5 separate regions of the Homo sapiens genome follow, and regions 1, 2, 4 and 5 are each linked to region 3. Evidence: promoter capture Hi-C in human tissues and cell types (Jung and others, 2019). All regions are on one chromosome and are shown on one strand. Each heading gives the region's core, a stretch centred on a gene start or on the middle of the fragment in contact. The rest is flanking DNA. Distances are from core to core; before and after follow the strand shown. Region 1 overlaps NSMF (NMDA receptor synaptonuclear signaling and neuronal migration factor). Region 2 has its middle 23 kb from the start of NALT1. Region 3 holds the start of LCNL1 (lipocalin like 1). Region 4 holds the start of NOTCH1 (notch receptor 1). Region 5 holds the start of TOR4A (torsin family 4 member A).

Region 1 (2,700 bases), core at 46-2,545, 460 kb before region 3:
GACAGAGCAGCACGTATCAGCTGGGCTAGGGTCAGGGGGCCACTGGTGCGCAGCCTGGCACAGCCTGGCAGGCTTGAGGCCCAGTGTGCTGGGGGTGGTCACACAGCCGTCAGCCACCTCCAGCTCTTCCAGGGCATTCTAGATGGGGTCCCGGGAGGGGGCAGGTTTTGGTGCCAATTTGAGTGTATAAAGTTTTAGGTAAATACCAAATGCCTGTAGACTCTGTGTTATTCAGTTACTATTTGAAAGTGACATATCGTGAAATCATGGGGGATCCGAGTCTCCTTTCTGCAAAGTTGATGAGACAAGTCGCCACCGCCTGGAATCTGCTGACGCTGCCGTGCAGGCCTCAAGGGTGGCACTCTTCAAAGTAGGACAGCATGCGAGGTCGCCACGTGCCCACACACTGCACTGCTCCAAAGGCACATCTGTCCGTCACCTGAGCTCTGAGACCCAGAACAGCCACAGGGACCCTGCAGTCCTAACCCGTCAGGTGGCTCCTGGGGCTGCTGCCAGCCGCATGCCTGTCCCACACAGTCCGGTCCGTAGGGTCTGCTGGAGTGAGTAAGGCCTGGGGGGCCTTATGTATGGTCCATGAGGTTCCATTCCTCATGCCATGACCACCGGGGGAAGTGAAAGGAGGAAGACACGTCAAAGCCAGCAGGCCCAGGAGCAGACATAGAAGGAGGTGGCCCCACAGGAGCAGACGCAGAAGTGCCAACGGGGAAGGAGGTGGCCCCAAGTGGAGGCAGGCTGGGCCAGGGCGGGGGGCCGGTGACCAGGGCAACCTCGGCTACTTTGCTGCACCCGCCCTCGCCTCCCTTGAAATACAAAAACAGCAGCAGCCAGAAATAGTTGGGGAAGAAATAAGAAATATTTGCCACACATGGGAGTGATTAAGGTCCTTAATATTTAAAGAGTTTTTATATGTTGCTAAAGAAAATGACAAAAACCGATATGGAAAAGTGAGCAGAGATGTGGAGAAATCATTCGCAGAGCAGGAAACTGGCTGGTAATTCCATGAAGAAAGTCCTCATCCCATCAGGAATCATGGAAAGGCCAATGAAAGCGACGAGGTAACCCCCTTTTCAATTTGAGAGGGTTTTGATCTGTCGCGCAGGCTGGGGCTCACCGCTGTCTTGACCTCCTGGGCTCAAGCGATTCTCCCACCCGCTCAGCCTCCGGAGTAGCTGGGACTACAGGCATCACCACGCCTGGCTAATTCTTTTATGTTTTGTAGAGACAGGGTCTCACTCTGTTGCCCAGGCTAGTCTCAAACTCCTGGCCTCGAGCAATCCTCCTGCCTCCTCAGCCTGTTACAGCTTTTTTTTTTAAGGTAATCTGGTAACAGCTCTTAAAAGTAGTGTGACTGATGAGTGCACAAGCCCGTCCAGCCCCAGCCGCCCCCTGGCACCTTTTCTGAGGGTGTCTACTGCCCCGCTGTGCTGTGCCCGCTAATCTGGGTGTGGCCCGATCGCACAATGGCTTTTCTGGAAGGATCCGATGCTCACGAGGCTTATTGCTAAGGAGGAAGATGCAACAGGTCCAGCTGTTCCAAGTGACTGGGTCACGCTTCACATCGATGTGCAATGTCTCCTGCCACCTGCCTGGATGCACTCTCGTGACTACCTGGCAGGCTGGGAACAGCACGGGGGAGGCCCCCGCCTGCCCCAGCGACCTGCCTGCCCTGCTCTCAAGTGCAGACCCCCAGGTCTGCACTTCCACGCTCACTACACAACCCCAAGTGGCCCCCCGGGTGGCCCCGTGGCCGGATGTGCACCCAGCAGAGCAGCCACCCTTGAGACCTGGGGTGTGGTCTGGGGGCTGTGTGGAGACCTCCCGCCAGGGTGCAGGAGTGTCTAAGGGCAAGCAGAGGTGTGATTCCTGTCTGTAAGGTAAAACCCCCGTGAGCAGGAATCAATAATGTAGACATGATCGGAATGGTGGAGGGAGCTGTGGCGGTCACACCCTTGCTGTTAGCATTGCCTCTGTGGGGGCAGGAGACAGCAAACATAAAACCTGTCCCTGAAAGGGGCAAGATGGCCCCGATGGCTCCCTGCACCTGTCCTGGTGCCTGCAGGCAGGCGGGTCAGCTCCCCTCCCGCTGCCAAATCTCCCACGTCTCTGTGCGCTCTGTCACCCCTGCTTTCTGGCCTGAGGGCTGGGAAGGGAGGTCTGGGGAGCCCAGGAGCTGAGAAGTACCCAAAAACCACCCCCAACGCCCCCCAACCCTCAGGCGTGCCTGTGAGTGTGTCTGTGTGTCTCACTCTGACTCACCCAGACAACTGACTTCAGCAGCCAACCTTGGTCATTCCCAGAACCACCACTGGGGGGCATACGTGTGGCTAGACTGGGGGCGCCCGAATATCTGTCTCTACAAAAAGTAAAAAAAAAATTAATGGGGTGTGGTGGTGGTGCGTGCCTGTGGTGTCAGCTGCTTGGGACGCTGGGGCAGGAGGATCACTTGAGCCCGAGAATTCAAGGCTACAGTGAGTTAAGATTACGCCACTGCACTCCATCCTGGGTGACAGAGCAAGACCTTGTCTCAAGAAAAAATTTTTAAATGAGTAAAATTTTAAAAAACAGATTTTGTCAGTCTTTCTGTCATTTCAACGCCTTCTCAACCTTGGTGTCTGCTGATGGCCTCTTCCCTGCTGGTCAGGATTCTCACAGTTCTTTGGGTGTGGAGGAATTCTGGTT
Region 2 (2,700 bases), core at 71-2,570, 410 kb after region 3:
ATGCTGCCCTTCCCCAGAGGGAAGGACAATGGGGGTAGAGAGGAGGTGGGAAAGTCTGGCGGGGACCATTGTGTGAGGCCCTGCATGTTTGCATAGTGAGTGCCTTGACTGCTGAATGGACACAGGCATCCCAAGAATGCTGGCAGAGCCCACCAAGGGGCCGGCCCCGCACCCCCAAGCCTCTGACGCTTGCTGTCACTCGAGCCTGTCAGCACAGAGGGTAGGGAGAGATGAGACTGGCCAGGTTTAAGCACCAAGTAGGAGTCATCAAGAGCTGCCAAGCACAGTGGTGCCGGTTGTAAACTGCACAATTCCCGGGAGTGCCATTGACCTGGGTGGCTACAACTGCCAGCAACCCTGTAGCCACTCTGTTGGCCTCAGTGGTCTCAGCAGTAAAATGGCACAGGAGACCCCGTCCTGAGAAGGTATCTGCTTTCAGCCCAAGGTGGGGAGGGCGTGGGGGAGATGGGAAGCTGAGATGGGGCAGAAGGGGACAGAGGAAGGGAGGAAATCCACTAAGGACGTGAGAAGGGCGAGGCCTCCTGACCGACAGGCCGAAGGCCATGTGGGCGGCTGCATGGGGTCCATCGTGCAGACCTTCACTCTGGGCCAGCGCTGGGGCTGTGAGCTCGGCCAGCGTGGGGAGACTGCCAGCAGCTCAGAAGTCCCTGCGGGCTCCTAGGACCTGGTTCCTGTTCCCTCCAAGGCCTTTCAGATTCCCCAGCAAACCCCACAGGACAGCAGGGAAGGGCCAGGGTGGAGGGGACTGCAGGGACTTGAGCTGTCCACACGGGGAGGAGGAACCCGGGGGAGGCTGCCCCGGCCTACATTTGAAGCCATGGCCTTCACTCCAGGAACCCCAGCTCACTCAGAAATGGGACTAGGAAGGGCTGTTCTCAGTGGGGACAGCCAGGAAGGACCAAGTGGGGAATATCCCTGAAGCCCCCACACTGCCCTTCAGCCCCCTAGAATGTTGGCTCTTTGGATCCTCACCGAGGGCGTGGCGCGGTGTGGTGGCTGAGGCCGCCTGGGACTGACCCCAGCTCTGAGTGTCGGGGCTCTGTGTCTCTGTCTCTGTGTCTGTCTCTCTGTCTGTGAAACTGGGGAGGTGGTAACGACTCCCTGTGTCTCCGTCTGTGAAACTGGGGAGGTGGTAACGACTCCCAGGGCGTGGGAGGTGAGCGGCCGATAAACGTCAGAAGGAGAGGCCGGCCCAGAGTCAGCACCACGGCTCCCGGGCTCCCAGGAGACGCACACCAGGCAGAAGGAACTGTGTGCGAAGGCCGGGAGGTGGGACCTGTCCGGGGGTGACGGCAGGCGAGGGAGGGGAGGGTTGTGGGGGCCTCAGGAGGACAAAGGAGGGAAGAGGCCAGGACCTAGGGGAAAGGAGGCCAGGGCAGCCAGGAGGCCCTGGGCACAGGGGTCTGTCCCCTGTCTGTCCCAGCCGTGGGGCGTCGTGCTGTCCTGGAAGCAGGTTTTCTGTGGAGGCTGTGGAGAGGCTGGGGAGTGGGTGAGGGCCCTACCCTTCCCTTTGTCCCTGGCCCCGGCAGCCAGGCACTGAGAACCAGCATACCGGCCGGGGCCAGGGGATTGGCCAGGGCCCCCAGAGGCCCGGGAGCTGCTCATTCCCCAGCTCGGGGTGGGCAGCTCTTCCCTTCCATCTCGGGGTGGGGCAGTGCCAGCCCACTGGCCCCCTGGGGGACAGGGCGAAGGGCTCCAGCAGGGCCACCCAGCAAGGGAAGGAGAGATGTGCAGGGGGCACCAAAAAGTCTGGGGAAAATGGGGGTCAGTCCTGGTGAGGGAGGCCAGAGGACAAAAGGGCGGGGCAGACAATGATCCCGGGCTGGGGACCGGGGCCTGACTGCCCAGCCTGGTTGATAGTTCAGGAGGTCTGCACATCTCGGGCACAGCCTAGCAAAACCTGGGGGTAGCAGCAGGGCTAGGGACTGGGGACCCGAGTCAGAGGTCCAGAGACGCTGTGTCTGTGGCAAGAACCTCTCGCTGACCTGGTGTGACCCTGGCGTGACTGTGTCAGGTGCCATGGTGACTGCACGCCCAGCCAGGGCCAAGGGTCTGCTCTAAGCTCGCTGCCTATGCCCTGTGTGGGGTGCCCTCCCCTCCTCTCTGTTCTGGGCTGCTCTGAGCCTCCCATCCCACAGGCCTGGGAAGGCAGGAGGGCGCCAGCAGCACCTGGGCAGAAGTCACCTCTCCCCTCCGCTTGCCCAAGCCAATGCCACCTGCTGTCAGGCCCAGGGATGCAGGGTCGGGCCAAGAGAGGGCTGAGAGCAAGCAGGGGACCCCCACCCAAACAATACACACACACATAGAGACACATGTACACACAAACACAGTGCACACAGACACACTTGCACACACAATGCACACATGTACACACAGACACACACACGTGCACGCATGCTCCAACAGATGCACACACCAGTACACACACAGAGACACACACATGCACACACCAGTACAGAGACACACATGCACACACCAGTACACACACAGAGACACAGACATGCACACATGCACACAGACACACGTGCACACACGTGCACACAGACACACACACATGCACACATGCTCCAACGGATGCACACACCAGTACACACAGAGACACACACATACACACACCACTACACACACAGAGACACATGCACACAGACACATGCACGCACAGATACATGCACACACCAG
Region 3 (2,799 bases), core at 181-2,680:
TTGCTGTCTCTGAGCCCAGGGTCCCCTGTTCACCCTCACAATCCTTAGAGGACATGGGACTTTAGGATGACCTTAGAGGTGGGGACACTCCTGCTGGGGGTGGGGTGGGTATTAAGTACCTGTTCACAGGCACACAGCCTAGAATGCAGGGCCTCCAGGTCCCCCTTCCAGACACAGACACACAGAAGACACACACATACACACATGCACACACACGGAGATAGACACAGACACAGACACACTGACAGACACACACATAGACACGCACACAAGACACACACAGAGATAGACACACACAGCCAGACACAGATACACAGACACACAGACACACAGACGCATACAGTGATACACACATACACACTCAGAGGTACACATCTACAAAGACACACATGCATACACACGCACACACAGACACACACACATGCAGAAATAGACACACATACACAGAGACACAGCCACATACAGTGATACACACACAGACACAGACATGCAGACACTTTTCTCAACACCAGGCCTCAGGCAGTGCTTCCTCCAGGGCCTGGGTCCCTCTGGACTCCGTGTGGCTGCCATCTGGGGCTCTGCCGCACAGAGCCGTCGAGGACCCGTGGTCTGACCTCAATGTGCTGGGGACACCATGGTCCCTCTGGACCTTCATGTGGCCTCATGCTGGCCATCCTCTGAGGCTGAGTCTGATGGGCTCGTGTGGTCACTTACGTGGGGTATCCAAACTTGAGGGCCAGGTCACCATTCCCCAAGGGGGTCACTAAGACCACAGCCATCTTCATGGTGTCCTTGGAGTCCAGGAAGTCCTGGTCATCTGACACCACCCCGACCATGTACCAGGTGCCCTGGAACTGCAGGGCAAGTGCAGGGAAGGCTGGGAGGCCGCCCCTGTGCCCTGGGCCTGAGCCCACCACATTCTGCCCCGACACAGCTGCTTCCTGGCCACGGCAGGGGCTGCTGTACACATCTCGACCCCGATGCAGAACTGAGGGAGGGGGGCCTCAGTACATGAGCAACTGGCCCCCACCAGCCCAGCACCGGCCTGTCTGCAGCTGGCACCCAGGGGGTACGGCTGGATGGGTGGGGCTGTGGCAAGGTCACAGGTCTTTGTGGGGTGGGTGGGGGACAGTGAGGCACAGGCAACCAACTTGTCCCTATTTTGGGCCCTGGGGATTGTTGGGGGATGCAACTGAAAAGGTAGGATGGAGGCTGCAGTCTTCCCCAGCCAACCCCTACTCCAGTCAGACGGAGCGGGTGAGGTGGGGGTTTCCCCTGCCCCTAGCCCTGCTGAGCCTGGATCAAAGAGGGTGTGGACAGGGACCCGGGGTGCAGCACCAAAGCCGGGAGGACTCATTGGAGATGAGGAGGAAACAGGGCTGGGCACACCTGGCTGGCATCAAAGTTGGCCTGGATGGGGACCTGGGCCTGGCCTGGGGATGCCCAGAGCAGGGCAAGGAGGGAACTGATCAGCAGAGCCCGAAGCATCATGCAGCAAGATGGCATCTCCTCCGGACACGGGAGCAGGGCAGAGCTGAGGTGGCTCCTCTGTAGGCTTTACGCCCCTGAGGTGCCCTGGGGCGGCTGGCCTGGGACTGCACCCACTGTGACAGGCTTCTGATCAAGTTGCACCCTGCAGCGCTCTGGCCTGGCTCCCTCCACCCAACCCCAGCCATCCGTTGCCTTTCCTCCGGGGTGGGGCCGGATGCCTGGCAGCTGAGGGTAGTTCTGACGGGCCTCTGGGCTAGGGGGCCTGCAGCTCACCCATCCTGCCTCTTCGGCCTTCTGCAGCCCCTCTGGGATGTTGGAATCCCCCCTACCTTGAGCTCAGGCACAGCCCTAAGCCCCCTTCTCCGGGAAGGCCACCCAGAAGCTCACCCTCACCTCCGAGCCTCAAAATGCTTGGTGCCTCTGCAGGGTCTGCCTCGGGGGGGCCTGGTGGGCAGGTCACAGTGAGTCCTGCACATTGTGTACCTGAGAATGGCTGCCTGGGTGGGAATCTGGAAGGGAGCAGGGTTGGGCAGGGCACTGGCCGGGCATGGTGTGGCCGTGGTGCCAGGGCTCTGGTGAGTGGACAAGGCTGTGATCTGGAGGCCCAGGTCAGAGGGCAGGGGGCGCACAGGGAGCCAGAAGGGATATGGGGTAGCCTGTCCCCAGCCCACTCTGTCAGTCTGTCCTGATGCGGGGTGGAGACACTCTGGCATGTTTCAAACAAATGTTTCTTTTTGTCCCCTGAAACCCTTATCTCTGCCCAATCTCAGTGCGTTAATCCCACACCTCAAGATACCCAACAGGTCCAAAGCTCCTCTGGGGCCTCGAGCCTCAGGCCTTTACTGCTGAGGGGGTGACAGGGTGGCGTTGGGGGTGCAGGGCACCTGCCTAAGGGATTAGCTGAGTCACTGACCCCCAGCTCAGCACCGGCCTGGTGGCAGTGGCAGCTGAGGGGGTATGGCTCGACGTGTGGGGCTGTGGGGCAGGGGCACACGACTGTGTGGGGTGGGTGGGAGACAGTGAGGGACACCCCCTCCTAGCTGTCCTGACTCAAGACCCCACTGGGAGCAAACACTAGAGGGCCTGTTCCTTTGTTGACGTCAGGCTGAGATTTTAGAGGGGGAGGTCCGGGTGGCCAGGGCCAGGCCCAGGACGGGTGATGACAGCGCAGACAGCCAGGAGCCAGCTCTACTGACTTGCTTCCGGAGTTTATTGTGCAGGATGAAGCCTGAGTGGGCAGGGTTGCTTTGGCGGGGAGCCGGGGCAGGGGCTCGGGGAAGGAACAGAGCAGAGACATCCAGAGCGTGG
Region 4 (2,886 bases), core at 335-2,834, 440 kb after region 3:
GTCGCACCCGCACCCGATCAGCACCAGGCCTGAGGCCTTCGGGCCTCCCTATGCCCCACCCCACCCCCACCCACCAGGAGCAGAGGACGTCGTGGTGGGCAGAGTCCTCAGCCTGGGAGCTGCACAGCCCCGCGCTTCCTTCTATGGAAAATCTGCTCCTCCAGGCTGCCTGGCTGCTGTTACATAAACATCTCTGCTGCCTCCAGGCGCCTCCTCTCCTGGGGCGCTGACCCCAAGATGTTACCCCAGGCCTGCAGAAGTGAGGCCAGATTCTGGGAGGACGCAGGCGAGGGAGGCTCCCAGCAGCAGCTACAGGGGCGGGACAGGCCGCCTGCACTGGCTGTTTCCAGAGTGCTCAGCATTTGGCAAGAGGTGTGCCAGGAAAGGCTTGCTGGGGTCAGGTGTGAGATTTGTCCTGCTTTCTGTGCCTGCCTCTGCCACCATGCTCTGGGGTTTCTGCAGCCCTCCCCCCAGGCCCCCACAGTCCTAGGTCCCTCCCAGCCTTTCGGTCTCCCCGCAGGGCAGGCTTAGCCCTCCTACTCCAGGAGGGGCGCCGGGACACGCGCCTTCTGCCATCGCACTCACCACCCTGTGTTGGGGTGGGGAGGGGGCGCTGTCTGTCCCTGGCACGAGGCCGTGAACTTTGCGCAGGGACTATGGCAGGCATTTTGGACTCCTGGCGCTTAACCAGGCTTGGCACAGGGTGCCCGTGCCTGGCATCGTGGTGGAGAAATAAATCAGCCGGAAGGAGCACGTGGGAAGGGCTGCGCCGGCGCCAGCGGCAGATCCGCCCGACCCGTTTGTGCTTTCTGGGGCCACCTTAGGCAGGCGGCGCCCGGGCAGGAGGAGGACGGTGACCGAGGAGCGTGTCGACGCGGGTCCCCCTTGGGGGAGCGGGGCACAATCCGTCCGCGAGGCACTGGTCCCGGCTGCTCCCTCGGGGCGCCCGGAGTCCCCTGCCCAGAGGCCGCGGCGCCCCCATCCCTCGCGGTCAAGTGCTCGGGCAATCACGGCCAGGGATGTCTGGCGGCGATCGATCCTCTGGACGCCTAAAGCCGCGGCCACGGGGCCCTCGGGAGGGAGTGAAGCCGCTGGGCTAGGGGCGCACACACGGCTAGGCCACTCTCCCAGAGCCCTGCCCCGGGCCCGGGGTCCCCCAACGTGGCCTCAGCTGCTCCCCGCCCGGCCCAGCGCACGGTGCACACGGCTGTCCGCGGCCTCGCCCTCCCCATTCCGCCCCGGGCTCCTCCGCTTATTCACATGCAAATTTCAGTCGCCAGTTGTCGCCGAGCGCGGCAACCGCCAGAGCCGGATCCTTCCGCAGCCCCGGCTCAAACTTTTGGCCTCTGAAAACTTTCAAACGAGAAGTAGTCCCAGGCGCCCGCTCCCGACCCACGCCGCGCCGCCGGGTCCCTCCTCCCCGGAGAGGCTGGGCTCGGGACGCGCGGCTCAGCTCGGGGAGGCGCAAAGGCGGACGGGGCGTGCGGGAGGAGGTGGCCGCGGAGGGGGCGGGGGGACCGGCGGGGGTGGGGCCGGGCGGGGCGGGGCCGGCGGGGGCGGAGCGCACCTCGACTCTGAGCCTCACTAGTGCCTCGGCCGCGGGAGGGAGCGCAAGGGCGCGGGGCGCGGGGCGCGGGCGCGGGCGCGAGCGCAGCGAAGGAACGAGCCGGGCGCGGAGCCGGGCCCGGGGGCCTGCGAGAGCACAGCGCCGCCAGCCAGCCGGGGAAGAGAGGGCGGGACCGTCCGCCGCCGCCCCGGGACCGTACGCCGCGCGTGTGCGTCCCAGCCCCGCCGGCCAGCGCAGGAGGCCGCCGCCCGGGCGCAGAGGGCAGCCGGTGGGGAGGCATGCCGCCGCTCCTGGCGCCCCTGCTCTGCCTGGCGCTGCTGCCCGCGCTCGCCGCACGAGGTAGGCGCCCACCCACCCGCGAGCCCCCACTTTCCGCGCCCTTTGGAAACTTTGGCGGCGCCCGGCGCGCGCGCCCCACGGCTGGGAGCGGGCGGCGGGGAGGCCAGCATGGAGAGGGAAAAGCGGGCGGCCCGGGGCGTGGGGTTCTGGAGTCCCGGGATCAGGGAGGACCGACCTTCCCCCTCGATCCCCCCGTGGAGGCGGACTCGCGCCGCCCGTGCCTGGAGCCGAGTTAGGAGGCCGGTGTGGGGTGCTGGGGCCCCGGAGGCCCTACTCCGGGCCCGCCCTTCACCCGCCGCGCGTGGGGCTTGCCGCCGGTCGGCCGGGCGGGCGGGCTGCCTACTATTTTTCGATTTGAATAGAGTCGGTTTTGGTTTCCTGTTGCTTCTCCGGGCCATTTATCTTCTTTCTTCTTCGCCTCTGGCCCACGCCGGGGCGGATGTTGGGGCGCGGAGTGTGGGCTCTGCGGCGCCGCGTTCGCCTTCACTGACCCGCGCGGCCGGGCTGGGTCCCCGGGCTCCCGGTCGCCCCGCCCGCCGGTGCCCCCCAGCCCGGCTCTCAGTTTGGGGGAGGGGTTGCGTAAGAAGCCGCCGCGCCCGGGGGGACTGAACTTTCCTTTTGCTTTGCGGAGTTGAAGTTTGGAAAGCTTGGGGGCGGAGAGCGGGACGCGGGTGGGGGGCTCTTACATTTCTCCCCGCCGCACAGCGAGCGGGGTCTCTGGGGAATCGAGTGATTAATCCACTCTTTCTCCGAGAGTTGGAGGCGAGAATTATCTGTCCTCTTCCAGAAAGTGCGGCTCTGTGTCACACCCCCCTCCCCCGTTTCTCAGCCCCGGTAAGATGGGGAGGGAGGGGCTTGAGTAATTGATCCCTTCTCGAGATGGGGTCGAATTCCTTCCGAATGGGGGACCTTCATCCCCCTCCTGTGGGTGTATGGGGGCTGCCCTGGAGATGCGCGCCCGCGGAGGCAGGTATTGGGTG
Region 5 (2,700 bases), core at 165-2,664, 290 kb before region 3:
GAGGTCATAGCGCTGCGCGTTATCGTCCAGGTTCTCGATAGCGTTGAGAACTTGGAAGCCCACGATGGCGACTAGCAGCAGAAGGCAGCGCTGCGCGCGGCTCCTGTGCTCCACGCGCGGCCGATACTTGCGCGAGGTCTCCGGGTAAAGCACCAGGCGGCTGCGCCGGCGCTTCTTGCGTGGCGTCCTGGAGGGTAGCTCCGCGGGGCTGTCGAAGGTGAAGAACTTTGGCTGGTCCAGGTCCGCGCGCGGTGCCCGGGGGCTGCAGCCCGGCCTGGGCGCCCCGGTCCCGACGTCGGGCCCCCCACCCGGCTGCAGGAGGCGCCGTTTGCGTAGGACACACACCCGGCGGCGCAGGCGGAGCACAGCGCGCACGGGCGCGATCACGCACCGGCCCGAGGCTCGGGGGGCCGCGGCAGCAGGCTCCAGGCTGGGCTGGCCGCGGTCCATGTCGCAGGAACGGCGCTCCGCATACAGGTCGCCCTCCCTGCAACGGGAAGACGGGGAGGGTCTCTGGACTCCCGCCACTGCCCTTTCCCGCGGGCCGCCGGAACCGGTCCCCGGAGTGATCTTACCCCCTGGGAGTCCCGTGGGGTGCGGCCCGGGCTGCCCCAGGGCCAGGGGCCTGGTCGCGGCCTCGCCCCTCAGACCGGCAAGCGACCCCTCCGCCCCTCCGCCCCTCCGCCCCTCCGCAGGGCCCCGATGCAAATCTCTCGGGTCTTCCCATAAACGGCCGCGGGCCTTGAGGAAGTGGCGGGGTAGAGGCTTATCTGGTGGCCGCCCCGGCTTCCTGGAGGAGTCGTCGAAGGAGTCAGTGGCCGCCCAGGCGCCCACTGGGGTGAACAGTCACCCCCGGACCCTGCCCCCGCCCGCGGCTCCCACTGGACTGGGCCGTCTCCCAAGGAGGGGCCGCGGGAAGCAGAGGCCTGAGCGCCCAGGAGTTCAGAGACGCCCCCACACGCTCCAGAACACTTGGCGGGGGTCTGGCTGGAACTTATGATTTTGAGAATAGGCCCGGGCCCCGTCCCCAGGCTCAACCCAGGCCTCCCAGCCCCGACTCCAAAACTGGGGTCCTCCCAACACCCCTCCAGTGAACGAGCTGAGCAGTGCAGGGAGCCCCCCGGAGACTAGTGGAGGTGAAACGAAAAGATGGACAGAAAGAAGAGGCCGGTCGGAGCAAGAGAGCCACTGACTGGCAGGAACTGGGCCCTGGGCCCCAACCCACCCCCTACCTGCAGCTGGTCCACTGCCCTCAGCTCCGCAGGCCCCTGCCTGTGCCAGACGCTGGGGCCTGAGACTCCAAGCAGGAAATGCGCCTCCCAGGGCGAGGGGGTGGGCCAGGGGCCTCCTGGGCCAGCTTCGGCCTGGAGGGGCAGCGACACCTGTGGGTCCCCAGGGAGCGGCCGGCCGGAGTAGAGGAAGCTCTGGGGAGGTTTCCGCTTCTATGCAAAGGAAGTGAGTCAGGGGGTGCGGCCCAGGCGGGACTTGGGCTGGACGGAGGCGCCAAAGGGGGGAGGCCTGGCCGGCTTGCCCAGATCCCCTGGCCGGAGGTCACATTCCCGCTTCAGTTCTCTAGCGCTCAGAGCCCTCCTGGCTTGGTCAGGCTCAGGACACCTGGTGAGGCCGAGGGCCCCTGCTGCATGCTGTGCCCCCACCCTGGGCTCCTGCACCTCAGCCTGTCCTCCAGGGCCCCCACCTCCCCCAGGTTATCCCTTCCACCTGTCACCCCACACACAGGGCTTACAGCTGGGGGGAGGGGCTCCAGGCCCTGTGTAAGCAAGGCGGGAGCAAGGCAGCAGCACAGGGGGCGGGCAGGGTCCTCTGCCGAGCTGCATACCCCCAATCCCTCTCTTATTACTCCTCTCCCCGCTTTTTCATTCCCCTCCTGACCCCAATCGGGGGCCCCCCAAAGTGGGCTCATTGTCTTTCCTTTCCCCCTTCCTCCGTCCCCAGCCTGGAGCCCCCTGCCCAGGACAGGCCAGCACACACAGACGGAAGTTCTATCACGGAAAAAACCACGTGCGGCTCAGGGTCCCTGTGGGGGTTGGGGAACAAATTTAGAAACAACTTGGGCCGGGAGCCAGGAGCTGGAGCTCTGGGCCCTTCCCCCTGCCGGCCTGCCTAAAGGACCCTGGACTCCTCCTACCCTGGCCCAGCCTGGAAGCCGCCTTCCAAGGAGGGGCAAGGTGGCCGCTCCAGCCACACCAGTGCTGCTGGCATTCAGCTCAGGACCCCGCAGTCCCAGGGACGCCCCACTCCTCCCAACAGCCAGCCCGGGCCTGATGGTTCCAGCTGTATATTCCTCACACACTGCACCCAACCAGACAGGCTCCATCAGGGAAACCGGTCGTGGGTTGGGGGTTTCCATTCTCTCCAGGGTATGGGGTCCACCGGACTATCACGCTCCCCTCCAGGAGCCAGGCCTAGGGCTCCCCTCCCCTGTGCAAGGGGTGCTCGGGGGCCCGGATCCCCAATTGTCGAGGCCGCGGGGGCCGCACACACCAGGTGGAATGCTGGTGCTCTTTGGGCCCACTCCCCGGCCTCTGTGGGACCAGAGCGGAAGGAGGTTGGCTGTCCAGGCCCCGTGGCCCCAGCACGGAGGTTGGGGTCCTTTGGGGGCCTCAGGCTTTGAGTCTCGGTGCTTCTTCTGACACAGAGAGGACCCTGGAGGGGAGGCCCTCGGGCAGATGCAGGCTGACC

What was found. The method cuts DNA at HindIII sites, captures the fragments that hold promoters and counts their contacts. A contact is called where the count stands out against the background at its distance.
Region 1: a fragment that was not itself captured here is called in contact with the fragment with the promoter of LCNL1 in region 3 in 1 of the 25 tissues and cell types used here (spleen).
Region 2: a fragment that was not itself captured here is called in contact with the fragment with the promoter of LCNL1 in region 3 in 2 of the 25 tissues and cell types used here (aorta and spleen).
Region 4: a contact is called between the fragment with the promoter of NOTCH1 here and the fragment with the promoter of LCNL1 in region 3, in 1 of the 25 tissues and cell types used here (lymphoblastoid cells).
Region 5: the fragment with the promoter of TOR4A here is called in contact with the fragment with the promoter of LCNL1 in region 3 in 1 of the 25 tissues and cell types used here (hippocampus).

Annotation. Positions count from the first base shown.
Region 1 is chr9:137,445,080-137,447,779 of GRCh38, reverse strand. It overlaps NSMF (NMDA receptor synaptonuclear signaling and neuronal migration factor), which reads left to right. Exons shown (of 16, transcript NM_001130969.3): 16 at 1-210. Among named protein-coding and RNA genes, the nearest start is that of MIR7114, 3.7 kb to the left of the region's middle. The HindIII fragment of the contact is 6,315 bases long and covers 1-2,700 here.
Region 2 is chr9:136,569,682-136,572,381 of GRCh38, reverse strand. No RefSeq gene overlaps it. Among named protein-coding and RNA genes, the nearest start is that of NALT1, 23 kb to the right of the region's middle. RefSeq lists enhancers at 1-523, 1,050-1,577, 1-2,700. The HindIII fragment of the contact is 8,565 bases long and covers 1-2,700 here.
Region 3 is chr9:136,981,624-136,984,422 of GRCh38, reverse strand. LCNL1 (lipocalin like 1) reads right to left here and starts at 1,430. Exons shown (of 3, transcript NM_207510.4): 1 at 715-1,430. The coding sequence starts at 836. PTGDS (prostaglandin D2 synthase) reads right to left here. Exons shown (of 7, transcript NM_000954.6): 7 at 2,681-2,799. RefSeq lists an enhancer at 1-92. The HindIII fragment of the contact is 9,863 bases long and covers 1-2,799 here.
Region 4 is chr9:136,544,746-136,547,631 of GRCh38, reverse strand. It overlaps NOTCH1 (notch receptor 1), which reads left to right and starts at 1,584. Exons shown (of 34, transcript NM_017617.5): 1 at 1,584-1,906. The coding sequence starts at 1,846. It overlaps MIR4674 (microRNA 4674), which reads left to right and starts at 1,373; the gene lies at 1,373-1,459. RefSeq lists enhancers at 1-727, 2,700-2,749 and silencers at 920-1,019, 1,360-1,919, 1,940-2,199, 2,420-2,469. The HindIII fragment of the contact is 7,823 bases long and covers 1-2,886 here.
Region 5 is chr9:137,276,440-137,279,139 of GRCh38, reverse strand. TOR4A (torsin family 4 member A) reads right to left here and starts at 1,414. Exons shown (of 2, transcript NM_017723.3): 1 at 1,233-1,414; 2 at 1-487. The coding sequence starts at 450. RefSeq lists silencers at 854-913, 1,194-1,513. The HindIII fragment of the contact is 16,896 bases long and covers 1-2,700 here.